6 separate regions of the Homo sapiens genome follow, and all the other regions are linked to region 1. The links are contacts of gene promoters, found by promoter capture Hi-C in human tissues and cell types (Jung and others, 2019). All regions are on one chromosome and are shown on one strand. The core of a region is centred on a gene start or on the middle of the fragment in contact, and the rest is flanking DNA. Distances in the headings are between cores, read along the strand shown. Region 1 holds the start of FAM227B (family with sequence similarity 227 member B). Region 2 overlaps ATP8B4 (ATPase phospholipid transporting 8B4 (putative)). Region 3 overlaps GALK2 (galactokinase 2). Region 4 overlaps ATP8B4 (ATPase phospholipid transporting 8B4 (putative)). Region 5 overlaps ATP8B4 (ATPase phospholipid transporting 8B4 (putative)). Region 6 overlaps FAM227B (family with sequence similarity 227 member B).

What was found. The method cuts DNA at HindIII sites, captures the fragments that hold promoters and counts their contacts. A contact is called where the count stands out against the background at its distance.
Region 2: a contact is called between a fragment that was not itself captured here and the fragment with the promoter of FAM227B in region 1, in 2 of the 25 tissues and cell types used here (IMR-90 fibroblasts and lymphoblastoid cells).
Region 3: a contact is called between a fragment that was not itself captured here and the fragment with the promoter of FAM227B in region 1, in 1 of the 25 tissues and cell types used here (mesenchymal stem cells).
Region 4: a contact is called between a fragment that was not itself captured here and the fragment with the promoter of FAM227B in region 1, in 2 of the 25 tissues and cell types used here (dorsolateral prefrontal cortex and mesenchymal stem cells).
Region 5: a fragment that was not itself captured here is called in contact with the fragment with the promoter of FAM227B in region 1 in 1 of the 25 tissues and cell types used here (mesenchymal stem cells).
Region 6: a contact is called between a fragment that was not itself captured here and the fragment with the promoter of FAM227B in region 1, in 5 of the 25 tissues and cell types used here (H1 embryonic stem cells, bladder, mesenchymal stem cells and 2 more).

What each region holds. Positions count from the first base shown.
Region 1 is chr15:49,619,211-49,622,579 of GRCh38, reverse strand. FAM227B (family with sequence similarity 227 member B) reads left to right here and starts at 1,762. Exons shown (of 16, transcript NM_152647.3): 1 at 1,762-1,880. It overlaps DTWD1 (DTW motif tRNA-uridine aminocarboxypropyltransferase 1), which reads right to left and starts at 1,532. Exons shown (of 5, transcript NM_001144955.2): 1 at 1,458-1,532. RefSeq lists an enhancer at 1,301-1,420. The HindIII fragment of the contact is 10,713 bases long and covers 112-3,369 here.
Region 2 is chr15:49,947,079-49,950,447 of GRCh38, reverse strand. All of the region lies in intron 14 of ATP8B4 (ATPase phospholipid transporting 8B4 (putative)), which reads left to right. Among named protein-coding and RNA genes, the nearest start is that of ATP8B4, 170 kb to the left of the region's middle. The HindIII fragment of the contact is 8,482 bases long and covers 1-3,369 here.
Region 3 is chr15:49,302,293-49,305,661 of GRCh38, reverse strand. The region is part of intron 8 of GALK2 (galactokinase 2); the gene reads right to left. Among named protein-coding and RNA genes, the nearest start is that of FGF7, 120 kb to the left of the region's middle. The HindIII fragment of the contact is 4,481 bases long and covers 1-3,369 here.
Region 4 is chr15:49,924,524-49,927,892 of GRCh38, reverse strand. The region is part of intron 16 of ATP8B4 (ATPase phospholipid transporting 8B4 (putative)); the gene reads left to right. Among named protein-coding and RNA genes, the nearest start is that of ATP8B4, 190 kb to the left of the region's middle. The HindIII fragment of the contact is 3,396 bases long and covers 33-3,369 here.
Region 5 is chr15:49,906,244-49,909,612 of GRCh38, reverse strand. All of the region lies in intron 20 of ATP8B4 (ATPase phospholipid transporting 8B4 (putative)), which reads left to right. Among named protein-coding and RNA genes, the nearest start is that of ATP8B4, 210 kb to the left of the region's middle. RefSeq lists an enhancer at 1-437. The HindIII fragment of the contact is 6,171 bases long and covers 1-3,369 here.
Region 6 is chr15:49,345,093-49,348,461 of GRCh38, reverse strand. All of the region lies in intron 13 of FAM227B (family with sequence similarity 227 member B), which reads left to right. It also overlaps a transcript of GALK2 not described here. Among named protein-coding and RNA genes, the nearest start is that of FGF7, 76 kb to the left of the region's middle. The HindIII fragment of the contact is 4,860 bases long and covers 1-3,369 here.

The DNA of each region.
Region 1 (3,369 bases), core at 513-3,012:
GACTTAGAAAACATAAAGACTGTTCCTAAGGAACTAACAATTTTAACACCTTGATGGTGCGTCCATCATTCTGGAACTTAAGGCTAAAAATACATTAATTTTTTATTCCTCCTTCTACCCAATTTCCACCCCAAATTAATTATACTCACCAAGTTGCATCTACCTTGTATATAATCCTCTATCTTCACTCTCAAAGTCAGGATTCTAATTCAGTTCCTTATTAACTCATAGATGGGCCACAGCAATGTCTTAAACCTCTTTGAGTACTTATTATTAGTTCCACATATTTGACATGGAAAAATGCATTTATTGTGGAGGTACTTTAGTGAATCTATCCCCTCCAGCATTCAACTCTGTAAGAGCAGATTCCTTCCCTGATCTCACCTATTCCTGATTCTTATGCAACAGCAGGAACTCAACAAACACTTGTTAACTAAATCAAAACCATTCTGCAAAACACATCCAGTAAGCATCTCACTACTGAAGTATCTGACAAACTACCTTTATGGGCCGTCTGCAGCCTAGCACAAGTGGCAGGCTGGCAATTTTTTTTTCTCCAAAATAATAACAAAAAGCTTCTACCTCTTCCATTATTGTAAGCTGACTCACCTCCCAATGGAACACTATACAGACTCCCCTGTCCTATATTGTGGACCAATTCAGTATTAGAAAAAAACCACTTCCAATTTTCTTTAGAGTGTTTTTAAGAACTTGGTCACATAGGACCTACAGGTCCAACATTCATTTTTCATAATCCAAGGTAGTAGTACCCTTTTTCATATAGGATCAATGGCCTCTCCCACACCACCCGCCATATGGTAACAAACTGTCTTGCCTTCGTTTTCATGGTGCACTGGGTTAGTCCTTACATGCTGCGATCTACAGTATTGATTTTACCATCCAACTTTGTGGGCCTGGCGACTGAAAATGTTAATATACTTCCTTATTTGTCCTACATTCCCAATAAATAATTTAGACGTAAGAAACAGGCTCTTTTGCTTATTATGTAACCACAACCTCAATATTTTAAATACACTGCATGGCATCACTAATTCTACGTCTGTACTACGCTTCCCCTTCCGTGATAACCAAACCCCCACAAACCACTCCAAATACTAAAAATAAAATAAAATAAAGTATGGGGTTCCTAGGGAACTGACTTTGCCAGGACATACTTTTCGTTGGGGCGGAATGCACCGAAAATCATTGGTAGGAAAAATAATTTTTTTTTTGAGGAAAAATTTGGAAACCTTTTTCCCAAAGGGCCCGCAAGATCCTAAAAAAAGCAAGAGACCGCGCAGAAACCGAGGATCCCCCTCACAGGCGACACCCAGCGCGACCTCCGCTAGGGTCCTGACAAAGAATGTCCACTTCCCGCGGCCGCACCTCTGGGGCCAGACCACTGGTCTCCAGAGAGGCGCGGGGACCTCCACCAGGGATCGGAGTGGTACTCAGACCTGCACACCCGCGAGTCCTCGAACAGCTCCACACGTCTCCAGCTCCGCCCGAGCCCGAGCCACGCGCCGGGCCGTGATCGCGCACGGACCAGACGGAGCGCTTTCCGGGAGACACCAGAGGGAGGAGCCAGGCAGTTACTAGCGTCGTTGCTAAGGCAGGGGCCGCGCACACCGCACACCGCGCGGCTTAAGCAACAGGCTGGGACGACAGCGGGGGGGGGGTTAGACGGGAAGTTCCGCCTCAGCCTCTCAATCAGCGGCGGTGTCGCACTTCTCCCGAGAGGCTCCGGCGAGGGGCAGGGCCGCGTTCGTCCGGGACCCGCCTCAAGCCTCGCAGCCTTTCACCCAGTTTCCTCCCGATTCTTGCTGGGACAACAAAATTGGGAAGCGGTTCTCGAAACATACTGTCAAGGCGTAGTTGCAGTGAGTTGTGAAGAAATGTTGATCCCAGAGAAAAGTTTGCATTTTGCCCACCTCAAAGATATTTTGATTGTGAGAACTTGGTTACATTAGTCTTTCGTGGCTATATCAATATCATTATTTCGTGTGCTGTGTGGTAATGAAAGCTATTAGAAAAATCATTTGTATCTTAATGATTTAGTTTGCATAAAAACACGCATATAGAGTTAAGAGTACTTTGTGTTTTTCCACTTTGAAGTATAATATGTGGATAAGTTATTAGAACATTTGTCCGTGCCTCTCCCCAAACAATGCGCAAACGGAAGTGCACTCTAACAACTAAGATTTTAAAACACAATGGTCAAATGTTGAGCAATGTTTTATTGACTACTCTGAATTTATCAAGTGGTAGATAAAGGACATTACAATGCCCTAGAAGTGCTCACGATATCAAGTAAAGCATGTTAAATTCAAGTACAGAAAATGCAATATTCTTACTACTGAGATAAAAAATGGAATTTAATAAATTACAGGAATTTCAAGAAAGCTGAGAATGGAGTGGTCAATAAAGGCTTCTTTTTCGGACTTGGGTAAGGCCTTGAAGAATGATTTAGGTTTAGGACAGTGTTTTTCAACTGGAAAGGGGATTGTGTGGGACCCATTAGTGGAGGTCTTGACCCATTTGTAAGCAAGGAAATCTCTTTAAACTTAAAAAAAAGAAACAATATAGATTGGAAATATCAGCGCATGTAAGTAAATTTAGTGTTAGTTAGTAAAGTACTGCTTTATGGAGCTTTTAATTGTATATATGCGTGTATGTGTGCACTAGGGCTTGTTTGTAAAATGTATTTCTTACTGTATTTCAAACCTTAAAAAGTTTGAAAGCCAGTGATTTAGGGAGAAAGGTGAATTTTCTGGGTAGGGAAAGTAGAATAGCAAAGTCTATAAGCCAAGAAGAATTCACAACCATTTTCCTTTTTAGTTTAACTCTAAATTTTATCAAAGTAGTTAAATTGCACAGATTAAAAAGCAAATAATACTACTTGTTAGATTGAGCATTGGGTTGCTATCGTATGTAATAAATTACTCCAAAATATGGTGGCTTAAAACAACCATTTTATTATGTTCACAGGTGGTGTTGTCAATAGGGCATAGTCATCAGCTTTTCTTTGGTAACTCAATTAGAAAGACTAGAGTGGGCATGCTAGCAGAGCTTCTGTAACTATATGGCCGGGGTTTCCTCACAGTATGGCAGCAAGGTAGTCAGACTTCTTAGCTTAAACTCAGAGCTCCAAAGGGAGTGTTGCAATGAACAAGGCAAAAATTGCCTGACCTTTTCTGACCTTGCCTCAAAAAGTAACGCGGTGCTACTTCCCCCACTTTCTTTTGCTTACAAATGTGTCAAAGTCCTGTTCCATTTTAGGAAAGGAGACATAGATCCCTCTTCTCAAAGGATTGGCAAAGATTTCTTGTCCATGTTTTAAAACCAGCATAGTGAATTTACTTCTGTAAC
Region 2 (3,369 bases), core at 350-2,849, 330 kb before region 1:
TACACTAATAAACTAGAAAACCTAGAAGAAATGGATAAATTCCTGGATGCATACACCTTATCAAGACTAAACCAGGAAGAAGTTGAATCCTTGAGTAGACCAATAACAAGCTCTGAAATTGAGGCAGTAATTAATAGCCTACCAACCAAAAAAAGCCCAGGACCAGACAGATTCACAGCTGAATTGTACCAGAAATACAAGGAGGAGCTGGTACCATTCCTTCTGAAACTATTTCAAACAATTGAAAAGGAGGGACTCCTCCATACTCATTTTATGAAGCCAGCATCATCCTGATACCAAAACCAGGAAGAGACACAACAAAAAAAGAAAACTTCAGGCCAATATCCCTGATGAATATCGATGCAAAAATCTTCAATAAAATACTGGCAAACTGAATCCACCAGCACATCAAAAAACTTATCCACCATGATCAAGTCAGCTTCATCCCTGGGATGCAAGGCTGGTTCAACATATGCAAATCAATAAACATAATCCATCACATAAACAGAACCAAAGACAAAAATCACATGATTTTCTCAATAGATGCAGAAAAGGCCTTTGATAAACTTTAACATCCCTTAATGTTAAAAACTCTCGATAAGCTAGGTATTGATGGGACATATCTCAAAATAATAGCTATTTATGACAAACCCACAACCAATATCATATTGAATGGGCAAAAGCTGGAAGCATTCCCTTTGAAAACCAGTGCAAGATGCCCTCTCTCACCATTCCCATTCAACATAATATTGAAAGTTCTGGCCAGGGTAGTCAGGCAAGAGAAAGAAATAAAGGGTATTCAAATAGGAAGAGAGGAAGTCAAATTGTCTTTGTTGGCATACGATATGATTTTATATTTAGAAAACCCCATCGTCTCAGCACAAAAACTTCTTGAACTGATAAGCAACTTCAGCAAAGTCTCAGGATACAAAATCAATGTGCAGAAATCACAAACATTCCTTTACACCAACAATAGGCAAGCAGAGAGCCAAATCATGAATGAACTCGCATTCACAATCACTACGAAGAGAATAAAATACCAAGGAATACAGCAAACAAAGGATGTGAAGGACTTCTTCAAGGAGAACTACAAACCACTGCTCAAGGACATAAGAGAGAACACAAACAAATGGGAAAACATTCCATGCTCATGGATAGGAAGAATCAATATCATGAAAATGGCCATACTGCCCAAAGTAATTTATAGATTCAATGCTATTCCCATCAAACTACCATTGTCATTCTTCACAGAATTAGAAAAAGCTATGTTAAATTTCATATGGAATCGAAGAAGACCCTGTATAGCCAAGACAATCCTAAGCAAAAATAACAAGGCTGGAGGCATCATGCTACCTGACTTCAAACTATACTACCAGGCTACCATAACCAAAACAGCACAATACCAGTACCAAAACAAACATATAGACTAATGGGGCAGAACAGACACCTCACAAATAAGACCACACATTTACAACCATCTGATCTTCGACGAACCTGACAAAAACAAGCAATAGGGAAAGGATCTTCTATTCAGCAGAAGAAAACCTAGGCAATACCATTCAAGACATAGACATGGGCAAAGACTTCATTACAAAAATGCCAAAAGGAATTGCAACAAAATCCAAAATTGACTGATGGGATGTAATTAAACTAAAGAGCTTCTGCACAGCAAAAGAAACTATCATCAGAGTGAACAGGCTACCTACAGAATGGGAGAAAAATTTTGCAATCTACCCATCTGACAAAGGTCTAATATCCATAATTTACAAGGAACGTAAACATATTTGCAAGAAAAAGACAACTCCATCAAAAAGTCGGCAAAGTATATGAACAGACACTTCTCAAAAGAAGACATTTACATGGCTAACAAACATATGAAAAAAAGCTCAACAGGCTAGTAACCCCTTATCAGATATATGATCTGCACATATTTCCTCCTATTCCATAAGTTGCCTTTTCACTCTGTTGATTATTTCCTTTGCTGAGCAGTCTTTTTTTTGAGACAGAGTCTCACTCTGTCACCCAGGCTGGAGTGCAGTGGCACAATCTTGGCTCACTGCAACCTCCATCTGCCAGGTTCAAACAATTCTCCTGCCTCAGCCTCCCAAGTAGCTGGGACTACAGGCGAGTGCCACCATGCCTGGCTGATTTTTTTTTTTTTTTTTTGTATTTTTAGTAGAGACAGGGTTTCACCATGCTGGCCAGGCTGGTCTCGAACTCCTGACCTCCTGATCTGCCGCCTCGACCTCCCAAAGTGCTGGGATTACAGGCATAAGCCATTGCGCCCAGTCCTGAGCAGAGACTTTTACATTTGATATAGTTCCACTTATTTGTTTTTGCTTTCATTGTCTGTGCTTTTGTTGTCATGTCTATGCAAGAAGTCATTGTCGAGACCATTGTTATGAAGCTTTTCTTCCATATTTTCTTCTAGGAGTTTTATAGTTGCAGGGATTATGTTTCAATTTTCAATGTATTTTAATTTGATTTTTGTGTTAGATGTAAGATAATGGTCCATTTTTTTCTTTTGCCTGTGCATATCTAGTTTTCCTCACTCTGTTGAAAAGACTATCCTTTCCCTGCTGTATAGTCTTGGAACCCTTGTTGAAATTCATTCATCTGTTTATGTGTGGGTTTATTTCTGTGTTCTCTATTCTATTCCACTGGTCTGTGTCTGTCTTTACTGGGGATACCAGTACCCCACTGCTTTGATGACTGTAGCTTGTAACATGTTTGAAATCAGGAATTGTGAGGACCCCAGCTTGGTCCTTCTTCCTCAAGATAGTTTTGGCTATCTGGGGTCATTTGTGGTTCCATATCAATTTTAGAATTTTTTTTATACTTCTGTAAAAAAATACCATTGAAATTTTGATGGGGATTTCTATGGTTCACTTTGGGCAATATGGAGATTTTAACAATATTAAGTCTTCTACTCCATGACCATTGGATACATATTCATTTATTTGTGTCTTTAATTGCTTTCATCAATGTTTTCTTTTTTTTTTTTTTTTTTGAGACAGAGTCTCACTCTGTCGCCAGTCGCCAGGCTGGAGTGCAGTGGTGAGATCTCAGCTCACTTGCAACCTCTGCCTCCCAGGTTCAAGTGATTGCTCTGCCTCAGCCTCCCAAGTAGCTGGGACTACAGGCACGTGTCACCACGCCCGGCTAATGTTTTGTATTTTAGTAGAGACAGGGTTTCACCATGTTGGCCAGGATGGTCTCAATCTCCTGACTTCGTGATCCGCCTACCTTGGCTTCTCAAAATGCTGGGATTACAAGCATGAGCCACCGCACCCGGCCTCATCAATGTTTTCTAATTTTCAGTGTGCAAGGGTTTTGAGAGCCCCCAGCTCAAACTGGGGCTCCAGCGCC
Region 3 (3,369 bases), core at 389-2,888, 320 kb after region 1:
TGCTATTTCTTGTGTTAATTAAGTAGACTTTTATATTGCTTCTTCTTGGAACATTTTATAACTTCTCATTAAAAGACTAAATTATATTGCTTTCCTATGTAGGTGGTCTCTGGTCTTTTTTACTGTTCCATCAGTGGCCCTTGACAGAATAAGGGTTTCCCAATATTAGAGAAGTCCTAATGGACTAAGGGTGTTAATCTTTGTGGTCTCTCCCATTCTAATCCTTTCTAAAGACAAAACAAGAAACCATCTTCCTCAAACATTTTCTAAAAAACTATGGAGCGTCTCTACCCTGAATATAGAGTGGTGGCCTGTCATATTTTCGTCTGAAACCTGCCACATGAATGATGATCAAATGAGATCTCATATGGTTAAACTGTTAGTGTCTATACACATACAATAGGTCATTATTTTTGTTGTCATTACTATTAATATTTGGCAATAACCTGCAAAAAGGCACTAGATCCATCCACAGTTACTCGCCTCAGCTGACTCTCCTGGAAACAAATGGCACAGTAGGTAGAAAATAGCATACAATTTCTAATTTAGAAATTATTAGGAAACTTTCTTCCACCTGAAGCTAAGTACTTTGAAAAAGGACTACAGAAATTGAACAACTAATAAACAGAAGAAGATGTTTTCTTGAACTAGGATATTAGAATGACTGGCTCCTGAAAAGAGACCATGAACTCTGCAAGACAGGGAAGAAAGTGACAAGCCATCATTACCAAGTAAGCTTTCACCAGATCATGTGCAGATAAAATGCCAGTATGAGAGAAATGTGTAACATAAAAAGAGATCACAGTATGTCTGTCTAATTCTTAAATGAAAATAACTTGAAATTTGATCAAGAGCAATATTCATTGTCCCAGATGTTTGGAAAAAATGTCAACTTCGTATTTGTATATGAGAAAGTAAATTGGTTCTCATTGGTATCACCAAGATTTGATGGGATGAGACTCATAGCCACTCAACATGGGAAAGTACAGTTGTCATTAGGCTGCTTCCAAATATTCCAGCTATCCTCACACATATTAAGACTGTACTACCTCACCCTCACTGAAGTTCATCACATCCATCTGACTGGCTTTGGCCAATCGAATGAGCATAGGGGTGATGCCAGTCACTCTGGCAGATGTTAAGAGCCAGAGAGCAATTAACAACATTACCTTCCTCCTGCCATGATTGTGGACAAACGTGTTGAGATGGAGCCCTCTGAGCCCAGCTCCATAAGTGTCTTAGATGAACAAACTCTTTTGCTGACTTATGTTAGATATAAAGAGTGAGTAAGAAATAAACTTTTGCTTGGTCAAGCCACTGAGACTTTGAAATTGTTTGTTACTGAAGCACAATCAGTTTGAGCTTACCAGTACAGGACAATCACTTTGACCAAAATAAATGAATTTCACCATAAGAAAAGCTGCTTTGTATACAAAGAGAACACTTACTTATGTGGAAACCTACAAAATGTAAAAATGAAAGCATAAGTAGCAAAAAAGGAAAATAGGATGGCAAGATGTTGGCCTCTTAGGTTGATGATGACTATAGAAGATGCTTTCCTATAGATGTTTCCAAACCAGCAGAGGAGTGACAGAGGAGACAATGAGATGTCCTTATATCTGCAGAAGCCTCATTCTACTCAAAACATAGTATCTAATAACTTCACAGCTGATCCTTTGATAATTTCACTCCTGAAAGACAGAGATACATCCATGATAAATTTAAGCAAAGGGAATACTGAGTAACATTTCCTTAGACTTAAATACATATATTTACAAGTTTAGAAATTATACATTTTCCTTTCCTTTTCTTCCCTTCCTTCCCCTTGAGGCAGCCACAAATGAGAAGACCAGCAAGGCTAGAGCCAAAGAAGCAGCTGGGGCTGAGGAGATGTACAGGAACTACAGGGTCAGAAACAAAGAGGCCTGCAAGGCTGGACCAAGGTGGTGGTCAGAGCTGAGGAGACCAAGGAGGCCAGTGATGCCAAGGCCAAGGAGGCAGCTGGAGTGAAGAAGATAGTTGGCAGGGTCAGGAAACCAGGTACATACAGGGAAAATGAGCAAATAAGTAAATATACTAAGAATGATGAGAGACATGTATTTTTCATGCTTCAAAGGTCTACATAGGAGCAGCTGGTGCCACGGCAGTTCATGCACATTGTTACTTCTCTGCTGGCCTCAGAAGCCAGAACCATGGTCACCATTAGCCTTGTGGGACAAGAGTCACACTGTGAGTACTGACCTACCTACCAGCGGCTGAGAAGCTGACCAACACACAACACAAATCACTGGTGTGATTCCAACACATGTCCTAGGCTCTTCCTACAGAAGTTGCAAGTTTTATGATGCCGTGCCTTTAAAAATCCTACTTAATAAGGTATGTTCACATTCATTTTTAGTTTTGAAGGGGGAAGGTGAACCAATGAATAGGGACATATCACGCACACATCTGAAAGAGGAAGTGGAATTTCCTGGTTATCTGCGATATCAGGTAAGCCCATTTTTTTTCCCTAGGAAACAAGGTAGGAACCTTTATTCCTGGCATGAACCTGTCCTCCACAGCCAGACAACTGAGAAGTCAATAGAAGCTGATGGGCAAAAGGAAGTGACCAGGCAGAGAGAGAAAGAAAAAAGGACTAATGAAAGCAAATTTTCTGCAAACTTGACTTCCAAAACAACTTAAAGAATAATATCTTTTGTGTGAAAGAAAAATCATTATTATTTGATTTATTCTTTTATACTTTGTTTTACAACAGTCTATTATTTTTCTCATAAAAACAAAAACAATAGACAAAACCAAAGGACCCATTTTATTGGCTTTCTCATTAGAAGTCCATCTCACAGATTTTAAGGATTTCTGTTCAACCAACATCTGTAAACTCTAGAAGGGTCTAAAACTTCCTTTGGAGTTTCGTCTAGCTTTCTATGGAAAACTTTTCTTCCAAAACATTTACAAGAAGAACAATGGAATCTGTTGAGATCACAGAGTTTAGTGCTTGATATCTTATAAGCTACATTTAAATCAATTTCCTTCATAATTGAGAACCCTCAACTGGACATTTAAATTACTAAACAACTGACCCTTTTTACATTGTAAAGCACCTTTATACTTTTTATTAGATAAAAACAAACTAATCTTCTTAGACTTAACCAAGATAATCTATGAGAACTGCATTTTTATTAAACGTGAAAATTCCATAGCACTTCTCATGGCTCTTCTAGAACACAACAGCTTATGCATATTATGGCCAAGTTGAGTTGTTCCTTAAATAAAGCAAGCTTCTAGATGCCACACAGTCTTATCTCTTCTAAGGCCAAAACACTAGAATGGGAAATAGCCATAAAGGAAACTCTTTGGACATAAAGCTAC
Region 4 (3,369 bases), core at 481-2,980, 310 kb before region 1:
AGAATGTTTATTTTTATTTTTATGTTTTGACAACAGGGAAGTCATCACCAGTGCCACTGATGAGCACACATGCCGTTCTAGGTGTTGGCTTAATGTTGTATCAGCAGGAGCTATCTTCTATTTACAGCCTCAGGGAAGGTGTTATTGATGTTGGTTTGGCCCAGAGTTGGTTTCTTTTTGCTCTGAGGGTGTTGACAAAAACCTAAAATTGCTACACAGGGAGATGTTTGGCTTTTCCTCAGCATTGGTCACCATTACAGGCTGTGGAGAAATTGCAGCCTAACCACAAACATCAGATGTTTGCCTTAATGGATCCCATATGAGGAAAGGTAGTGCTCTACCACAGAATGCATGAAGGTTTGCTGGATTTATTTTTATTCTGCTTGGTTTTTAATCAGGAGGATTTTTAGAGGGACTCTACCAGGGCAGAAAAGTCTTTGCATGATAACAAGGCAGAAAACAATCCTGGTCTCATGATCGTCACATGGGTTGGTCTGTAGGAACAACACCCTGATGCAAAGGCTCAGGCATTGCTTCTGTTGCTGCTGATCCTCCCCTTTCTCCTCCTCCCTCTTCTGCTTCCTTGTTTTTGGGTGGCAGCCATTATTCACTAAATCATCAATGTATAATTTCAATACCAGTAGTACTTTCATTCTGAAGAAAGAGCCCTGATTTAAGTCAGAAGTATCTACATAAAAATTGATTTCTATAAAGGATTTTTTTCCAGAGGGAACAGAATATACTATATTAGTAAAAAATATAAATGACATTATATAGTTTTGGAAGGACCAATTCTACTAATTCTGTAAATAGAAATACAGAGATAAAATTCAGAGGTGGCTATTAACAGGGGCAAGTGGCAGATAACCATTAAAGAAGAAGAAATTACAAGAAGCTTCTTGGAAGGCTCTTACGAGATCTTTAGATAAAAGTTGCTCAACTCTAAACTTTTTCAAGATTATCAAAGTACAAATCACACTGTCATGTGACAGGCATTTCTCTGTGTAGATGTATGAACAGCGGCGATATGGCAAAATAGAATTATTTACCACCCTTCACAGTGCTGCTGTTGCATCTAACTGGAAGCCATTTGTGACATTTTTTCTTTCCTTTATGTCACAAAGGCATAGCTTCTGCTTTCAATAAATTGTGCACAATTTTGGTTCATCTTAATTAAGTAAATATTGATTTAAGTTCCCCATATGTTCCAGGGCCTTCAAGCTAAGGGAGAATGTGAAAAGTTGAAAGGTAGTTCTATGTGGCTGCCTCCAAGAGAACATGGTAAAACAGACTGGATAGTGCAGCTGTTAATAAGCTCTATATGTCATGTCAAGGAGTCCAAACTTAATAGAAGGGAGAGGGAAGCTATTGCAGGATTCTAAGCAGCAGCATGAAGATGACTGTAACTGGAATATACAGAAGAGTCTGGAAGGAAGCAGTACTGGAATGGGTAAAACCAGTTAGGTTAAAGTGATTTTCTAGGCAAGAGAGAAGTGGCAAGAGAAATCCGTAGCTTCCCTTAGATGTATGGTTGGTGAAGGGAGAACTGTGAGTGATGCCTAGATTTCTGATTTGGGAGACTGAATGGATGGTGAAGCTGATTACTAAGACTGGGGATATAAGAGGAGTAGCTAATTATTGGAGGAGGGTAATATGTCCAGTATGAGTTTGGTGTGCTTGAGCATATCCAAGAGATTTTCAACTGGTAGTCGGATGTGCAGGTCAGAATGGAGTGCTAGAGATGGATTGGACAGGAGATACACATTTGAAAACAGCCTGGTGTTGGAACCTGAAGCCATAGAAATGATGCAGTTGCCCAGGGACAGTATGAAGGATGGGAAGATAAAAAAAAGACCCCAAGTAAATCTCTGAAGAACACTAATATTTAAATGGAAAGCATTGGGAGAAGATTTTATAACCTAAAAACTGTAACCTTTGTCCAAGTTCTGGCCATATGTTATCGTGACCATTTAAAACTATGTCCTTTTTAGTTTATTTAAGAAATACTAACTTCTGAAATGACTTAGATTTTATTAACTTTGAACAGAAACGACCAGAAGGCTTGGAAGAAAAGAGATATAAAACTTGCTGCTAAAGCAAATGTTTAATGAGTAAACATAAGCAGGATTCCATGAAATTGGATTTCCACAAAATCAAATTTAAAGGGACAAATACTAGGTTAAGGGAAAGTATCAGGGATGGAAAGTATTTATTGAATCAGAAAATTGTACTGCTGCAAAGGACCTTTGAAGTTAGATTGTTTAAACATCTCCTTTTTACATGTAGAAACTAAGATACAGTGATGGTAAGGGATTTACACAAATCACAATCAGTTTGTGATTCTTCCAGACCAGTGATTCTAAATGTGTGGTCCAGGGAACCTTAGGGAACTTTGTGAGTTTTTCAGAGGATGCACAAGGACAAAAGTATTTTCATTATAATATCACTATTATTTATCTTTTTCATTCTTTTTCTCATGAGTATACCATGGAGTTTTGCAGAAGCCACGTGACATGTGATGTCACAACAGAATGAATGCAGAAACAGATATGGGAATCCAACCCTCTTTTATTAAACTAGATGTTACAAAGATCTGTAATCATGTAAAATAATGCCAATCTCCAAACTAATATTTTTTGGAAAATATAGTTTTTTTATAGAAATGTTATTTATGCTTATATGTTAGATTTACAATAATAATAATTATAGTAACTAGTGTTATAAAACTGATATAATAAAATTTCTCATTTTTAATTTCTAATATGGATATTGATAGATAACATTCACTTAAAAAAACTTTTTAGAATCCTCACTCAGCATTGAAAAATTATAAAGAAGGTCCTGAGACCATAAGTTAGAGAACTAATGTCCTAGTCTAGAATACAAAATACAGGCAAATGTAGGTTATTCATCGTTTGCCTTTATACCTCTGGTGTTGGAAGGGAGAAAATATAAGGGAAATTATTCAATTGGATTATTGTACAAGAAAATCAAGAGAGAGTCTTTCCTAGGATTAAGTTTCCCCCCCTGGTTTAACAATTAGATAAATTGCATATGTTTTTCTCTTTCTTTTTCCCCAATGTAGGGGTTAGAGCTAGAGTACAAGAAAACCCACATGAGTTCTGGCAATTAGGCAAGCTAACCAAGGGTCTTAAAACAGAAGACAAGACCTAGACAAGGCCCAGTCCTAAAAAGCTTCCAGGGTATGTTATTAGATCTATGTAAGCCAGGAGGAAACTAGAATAGATAAGTGTAGACTGGGGTAGAGGGGAGGGTAACATTGTATTTTGGTTTTTATATTTTTTTAAATTAAGCACTAAATTTTGTACGCCATTTTCTTTGGCATTACATTAACAGTAAATAATAGTA
Region 5 (3,369 bases), core at 394-2,893, 290 kb before region 1:
CTTGGGCCCCAGTGGGAGCAGTGGTAGGCTGAGCCTGCCTGTCTTTGGGTCCAAGGGTAGCACATTTGGCACTGGCATTAGTGTGTCCTGGTGGGATGATTCTTGGGCCACCAGGAGGCTTGCTCAGGTGACAGCAGTAGAAACAGTGGGCTGGACCTTGGGCCCCTGGGCTGCAGGCATGGCATAGGCAATGGCAGTAGCAGTGGTTGGACAACTCTCTGGCTCCCAAATAGCCTATGCTGGTGTTGGCAGTGGCTGTGACAGGCTGGTCAGGCCATTCCCCAGGTCCACGGGTGGTAAGTGCAGGTGGGTGCTAGCTGTGGTGGTAGTGGCAGGCTGGGTTAGTCTGTCTTCCAGTCTCTGGGAGGAGTGGTCATGATGGTGGATGGAGCCACGGCAGTGGATGGTGGATGGAGCAGGGTGATCCCCAGGCCCCTAGGTGGTATGCTCAAGTACTGGGGTGGGGGGTATGGAGTGCGGTCAAAGCCAGACTGGACAGACCTGTCTGTATGTTCCCCTTCTCCCCGCTGTCCAGTGGTATGTATGGGTGCTGGCTGTGGTGGCAGGGACAGGGTTATCCCAAGGCCTCTGGTGGAATGCTCAGGTGGGGGTGGCAGTAGCTGCACTCTGGCCGTGCTGGCTGCTGGGGTGAGTGGGATTGCTTTTAGTAGTAGCAGCCTTAGGCAGGTGGCTGGGAAGTGTGTGCTTTGGCTGTAGGTGGCAGCTATATGTAAGGTAGCCTATCCTTAGGGCATGTGGAAATGTGAGGAAGTCCTGTTGCTGGAAGGGTAGTGGGGTTGCTGTCAGCGTCTTGCACTTTGGCCATGGTGGCAGTGGTGGCAGTGGTGGTGGCTGCAGGTGGGGAATGTCAGTGGAGCTCCAGGAATGTGGAAAGCCAAGTACTGTTGGGCCCTCAGGCAGGATGCAGTCTGGTGGGGCTGGGCTCTCAAAATGACACTTTGCTGTCATTTTGTGGTATGTGGGACCCAGTGTGAGCTCCCTCTCTGGGGCAATGGCACTGCCTTGTCTTCAGGCAGCTCCCTATGTTAATTTCAGGGTCTGAAAGGGTTGAGAGGCTCTCCTATGGCTAGGAGTGGAGTCTGTGGTGAGATTGTGGACCACTGGGCATCCCTCACTTATACTTTCCCTACACAGGAGAGCCTTTCTGGGCTCCCAGCCAGACAGGATGCCTTGTTTCCCTCTTCTTCTTTTAGGTGTTTCCTGTCACTTCTCTCTTGAACTCCAATATTTTCTCTTAGATGACATATTTGAAGTATGATTATCTACTCTCTATCTTGGTGCTTCTTTGTGGAGGAGGCAACTGCCAGATGCCTTTAGTCGTACATCTTGAAGGACCACTCTCATTCAGAACTTGACTCTTGCTGAAGGAAGATAGATGCAAACAGATCTAGATTTTAATAAGCCTGTTGCTAAATGTTTTGAGACAGTGCCTGGAAGAGTATTGTAGGCAGTACACATGTATTACCTCATTTTGTTCTTAAGAAACTCAATCGTAGGCATTACTGTTTTCCCTGTTGGACATATGAGGAAGTCGAAGTATATAGAGGGTAAGTAACTTGCCCAAAGTAGTCCGTGGTTCAGGTGGGATGTGAATCTAGGCAGCTTGGTCCCAGAGGCTGTGCACTTGCCATGTGTTTCCCTAAACATACCTCAGATTTATTTTTATTCCCTTTAATAATTAACCTAAAAATATAGTTGTTAAGGTATCTTACTGCTTCACTTGAGTAAATGGTCAGACACCAGATTAGCAAGTAGAGTCAGCAGAAATTTCCAGGGGAAATAGCAGATGTAGGAGAAAGAGTATGGGCTTCATGTCAGCTGGATTCAAGTTGGAATCTCAGCTTCATGCTTAGGCTGAGTGGGAAACTTTTGATATGGGAATAACCTCTGTTTGCTTGGTTTCCTTATTTGTAAAATGGGGATACAAATATCTACTCTATATCTTATTTTATTTGGGGGATTAGATAAGAACTTAAAGCTTTATGACTGTTCCATGCGCATCTTTCTTGCCTTCCTCATTCCTTGTCTATTTCCTCCCTTCTCCCTTCCTTCATTCTTTCAGCCACTGATCCCAATCTTTCCACCAACAAGGACTACTTTTGTAACTATTTCCCCAATAAGGGCAGCAGGCCTGAAACAGTGGGGAAGGAAAGGGTAGAATAAAATAGACAGCTTTTTGGAGGTAGAATGAATAGGTCTTGTAATTTGATTGGATGTGAAGAGAAATAGTAGGAGGCTTTGTCACTGCTAGGTTTCACAGCCCAGAGTGTGCTCAGGCATGCAAGAATAGAAACTCATTAAATTTTCTAAAACTGAACTTGAACCTCTTTCTGTCTGAGGACAGAACAATTAAACTAGGCATTTTCAGTTAAATTTAGTTCAAGTCTGGGATGTACAATTGCCTCACCTGTTACTGTTCATCAGTGTCTACCCTGCTGGCATCCAGCACTTCCCACGTCTGTGTTCCTGTCTGGTCTCTGCTCTCTTAGGGTTGTTGTTGGCTTTCCCTCTTGGCTGACTTCCACACTCTGCTGGGGAACCATGGAAAGTGTGGCTGCTCTTCCTCACCTCTCTATGCCCAAGATGACTTGTGTTCTTATATGGCCACTTCAGTTTCTAAAATCCCTTTACTCTGCTGATTCCCCTAAATTTATCTGAGGATTCCATTAGCCACATGGTTCCTTCATCCACTACCAATCCAGGGGCGGGTCAGGACCCCGGCTTTTTTTAGCCATCACTTATCAGTTTCTAAACTCCTCAAAGTCCCCTTTCCCTAGGCTGGGATGGGAAATGAAGGAAAGTAATTTCTTCCTACTCTGCTCCTTTTGTCATCATTTTAATGCCTTGACTCATTTAAAGTTTATTCTTTTGATACTTAAAGAAATCCCCCCCTTCTTTTTCCAAAAGTCCAATTAGTGAAATTCCAGATTGCTGAAATTCAGACTAATGATGCTGCTATGAGTTTCAAAGCCCTATTTTGGTGCTCAAAAACAAAAGTTTCGTTGTATTTTTCTCCTTCTATATTTGGCTCTGCAGATCCTCCTGAAGCAAAGTATGTTTCTAGTTAAATGGAGAGGATCACTTGTGGTCCTAGTAGTAGTGGGAAAAGGAGCGATTGAGTTAATATCTCAAGATTTTATCCAACTACATTTGGTTGGCTAGATGACACAACTGTCATTACGTGGAAAGAATATGGAGAAATGTGAACTACTTGTATGCTGTTGTTGGGACTGTAAGTTGATAGAAACTCCCTAGAGGACAAACTAGCGATATGTTTCAAAATTACACATACGCATAGTTTTTACCCAGTGATTCTTCTAGAAATTTCCCTTAAGAAAATAAGTGAAC
Region 6 (3,369 bases), core at 455-2,954, 270 kb after region 1:
GTTGCCTCACATGTGTCTGTTTTCTGTTTTTTTAGTGATATATCAAATTTCAAAGTGGGAGTTCCAGAAGTTCTATCTTTATATGAAGGACTTAGATATTCAATTAAGTTTCAAGCAGAGAGCTAGGGAACTTGTCTTGAACATGTATTTGCAAAGCAAACCCGAAGTTTGTATATTTATTTGGAATAGCTTTGTGGAGGGTAGAGGGGTGATTGAAAATAATGGGAATAGCCAAAGTCCTTCAAAGCAACCCTTGGAGCTGTCTCTGTTAAAGGACATAAATTATAAAAATGCTGGAATTTCTGTAAATCAACAACTTGTTTATCCAGCCTTATCAGGGAGTGATCTGTGGCCCATAATTAAATTTTCCAGATAACTAAAGCTGATCATTTGAAGCACTAACACTTTTTATGTTAGCCTTTTTTTTTTTTTTTTTTTTTTTGAGACAGAGTTTTGCTCTTGTCACCCAGGCTGGAGTGCAATGGTGCAATCTCAGCTCACTGCAGCCTCCACCTCCCAAGATCAAACAATTCTCCTGCCTCAGCCTCCCGAGTAGCTGGGACTACAGGCATCTGCCACCACGCCCAGCTAATTTGTATATTTTTAGTAGAGACGGGGTTTCACCATGTTGGCCAGGCTGGTCTTGAACTCCTGACCTCAGGTGATCCACCCACCTTAGCCTCCCAAAGTGTTGAGATTACTGGCGTGAGCCACCATGCCTGGCCAATGTTATCCATTTTAATGGAAGTTTTCATTGAAGGTTATCAATACTTCTCTGACTTCTTTAACAAAGTAGCAAAAACTAATTAACTTTATGATAATAACTAAGCTTCTCAGGATGAAATCTATAACTCAACTGCACCTAGATACCAATAAGAATACTCGTTCAGTATGCAAAGAACAGTAAACATTTACTGTTTGTTTTACCAAATACCTGTTACATACCAGCACTGATACTAGTATGAGGGTGCTAAGCAATCTAATAGCAAAGACAGGGAAATAGGGTCATCAATAATCTGTCCTATACATAGAATGCTATAGTAGAAAGGAGAAGCACCTTCATCTACTTTTAAACAACCCTGCACTAAAAGCATAGATCACTAAGCTGTTACAGTCTTTATTCCTAAATTTTATAGTTCTTCTGTCTCCTACTTCAAAAATGTTGTCACTTCTTATTCTTACTAATTTCTTAAGGGCAAAACACCATGTCTCTACTTATTTTTGTGTCTCCATGCCTAATACAAGTCCTGGCAATTTTGTTGAATTATTTTACTTGAATAAGTGTTAATGTTTTCAATAGCCCTTCCCTCAATTTCCTGAGTATACTACAAAACTGCTGATAATGATGTATTAAATAGTGAAACTTACTAGAACTGCAATCCTATTTTACATATAATTCTAGGCCATTTAGAATCTGGGTAAGATTCCAACAATGATGTTATTTCCTATAGAGTAAGTCACATGTGCTTATAACCTTTTAAAAAATGTTTTTGATACATGGATGTTGGGTAAACTACAAATCTAACATTAAAATATTTTACTTATAGGCAAAGGTAAACATTAAACAGAATATAACTGCTCTAAGATCAGTTTAGGCCACATGCTAATAAGCTTATTTCAAGAATGTAGTTTTTAGGATTAAGAACTAAGTGCATTCTAGTGTATAAAGTAGGAGATTCTGGCCACAGCTTGCTGCCTAGCTTCCTTTTACTTGTTATACAATTAGCATTATGTGTATAATGGGCACTTTCGCCTTAAGCCTGAGATGCTCAGAAACAACTCTGAGGATAATCCAAAGACTATCTCTAAGGGATACAAGATAGACAGCAAAGCCTCCTGAAGCTTCATTCTGTTATCACCGAGGTCCAGGTCTGTTCTGCCCATGCACAGTGAATCAATCACTGTGACACAGGTTTTGCAAAAGAGAAAAGATTTATTGGCAAAGCTGCCAAGCAAGGAGGCAGGAGAACAGCTCTCACATCTACTTCCCCTAAAATAAGGCTTAGGGATATTTTTGGGTTAGGGAAATGGGGGTGGCCTTAGGTGTGGGGAAAGGTGATTGGCAATGGGGAAAATGAAGTAACAGGTTCATTCTGTGCAAGCATAGTCAGGCTTCATAGCATTTTGTAGGACATATGTATAGAAAATCGTGTTAGCACAACCTGAGGGTAGAGTTTTTGGCCCTCCATGGTCAAAAGGCCATTTGTTGCGCACTTGCGCAGGCCCAGCTCAAGGGCTGGTGGTCTCAACCAGTTTGAATTGGACAGGAGCTGGCCCAAGTTTCTGAAAAACAACGGAAGTGTTGTTTTGGTGAACTATGGATGGTATCTATCAAGCAGCCAGTAAAGGTTAAGTTTCGTGTTCAGCAGCATGGCTTTCAGCTTCATGGAAAAAGGAAAAAAAAAAAAAATAACAAAAGCAAGTGACCAAAAGCAAGCAGGGCAGGCAGACCTGATCAAATTAACCTCTTGGTTTCAATTCTAGGACAATACTTTTGGCAGATAAGTACGAAATTTGCCCCTGGGCCATTCTTTTCCTGAGTCTCTCACACACACTCAATCTCTCAAAGGCAAGGTACTTCACTTCTAGAAGCTTCAGTTTCTTCATTTCTAATCTAATTAAATTGGATCCTACAATTTCCAAAACCCTTTGTTTCTCTAATATTCTGTGATTATAAAGGGAGATGAAAGACCCCAGAGTCCTGAGTTGAGAAGGTCTTAGTTTGTTACATCCCAACCACTGTTGTGAAGTCCCAGAAAAGGACTATTTTATTTGTCCCCAAGTGAATCTTCCATTCAGTGGCTTACCATATAGCAGTGCATGGGAATATAAAGTATGAGGCCAATTCAGATGGTGGAATTGAAAAACATGTTGCCACATTCATCCCCAAGGAGTAGAATATAACCATTGTTCATAATGTATATGGTCTAAGTATTCTGTTTTATCTAATTCGGAAAAAATTTATAGTTATAAGTGTCTAAAAAGAATAAAAGTTAAGATATTCATTAACACACTTCAACAGAAATCTACTGAAAACCATCACCACTGAGTTGTACAAGAAAATGCTAAGATTTCAGTCAACACCAACATCATGCAGCCCAGCACTTCATTATACAGCACAAATGTACAACCATGACCAAATTTTACAATTAGAATGACTTTATGAGGAACGTATGTCTACCCAGTTCATTTCAATAAAGTCATATGTTCAAAATTAATAATTTATAAGAAATAAAACATAATTCTTGATTTCAATACCAATAGTATATAATAAATGTACAAGTCAAAGAAAATCCAAAATTTGTTCAAAGTGACAAATACATCACCTCCCTCACAAATAATCATGGAAATGATACTCAAGAGAGCACA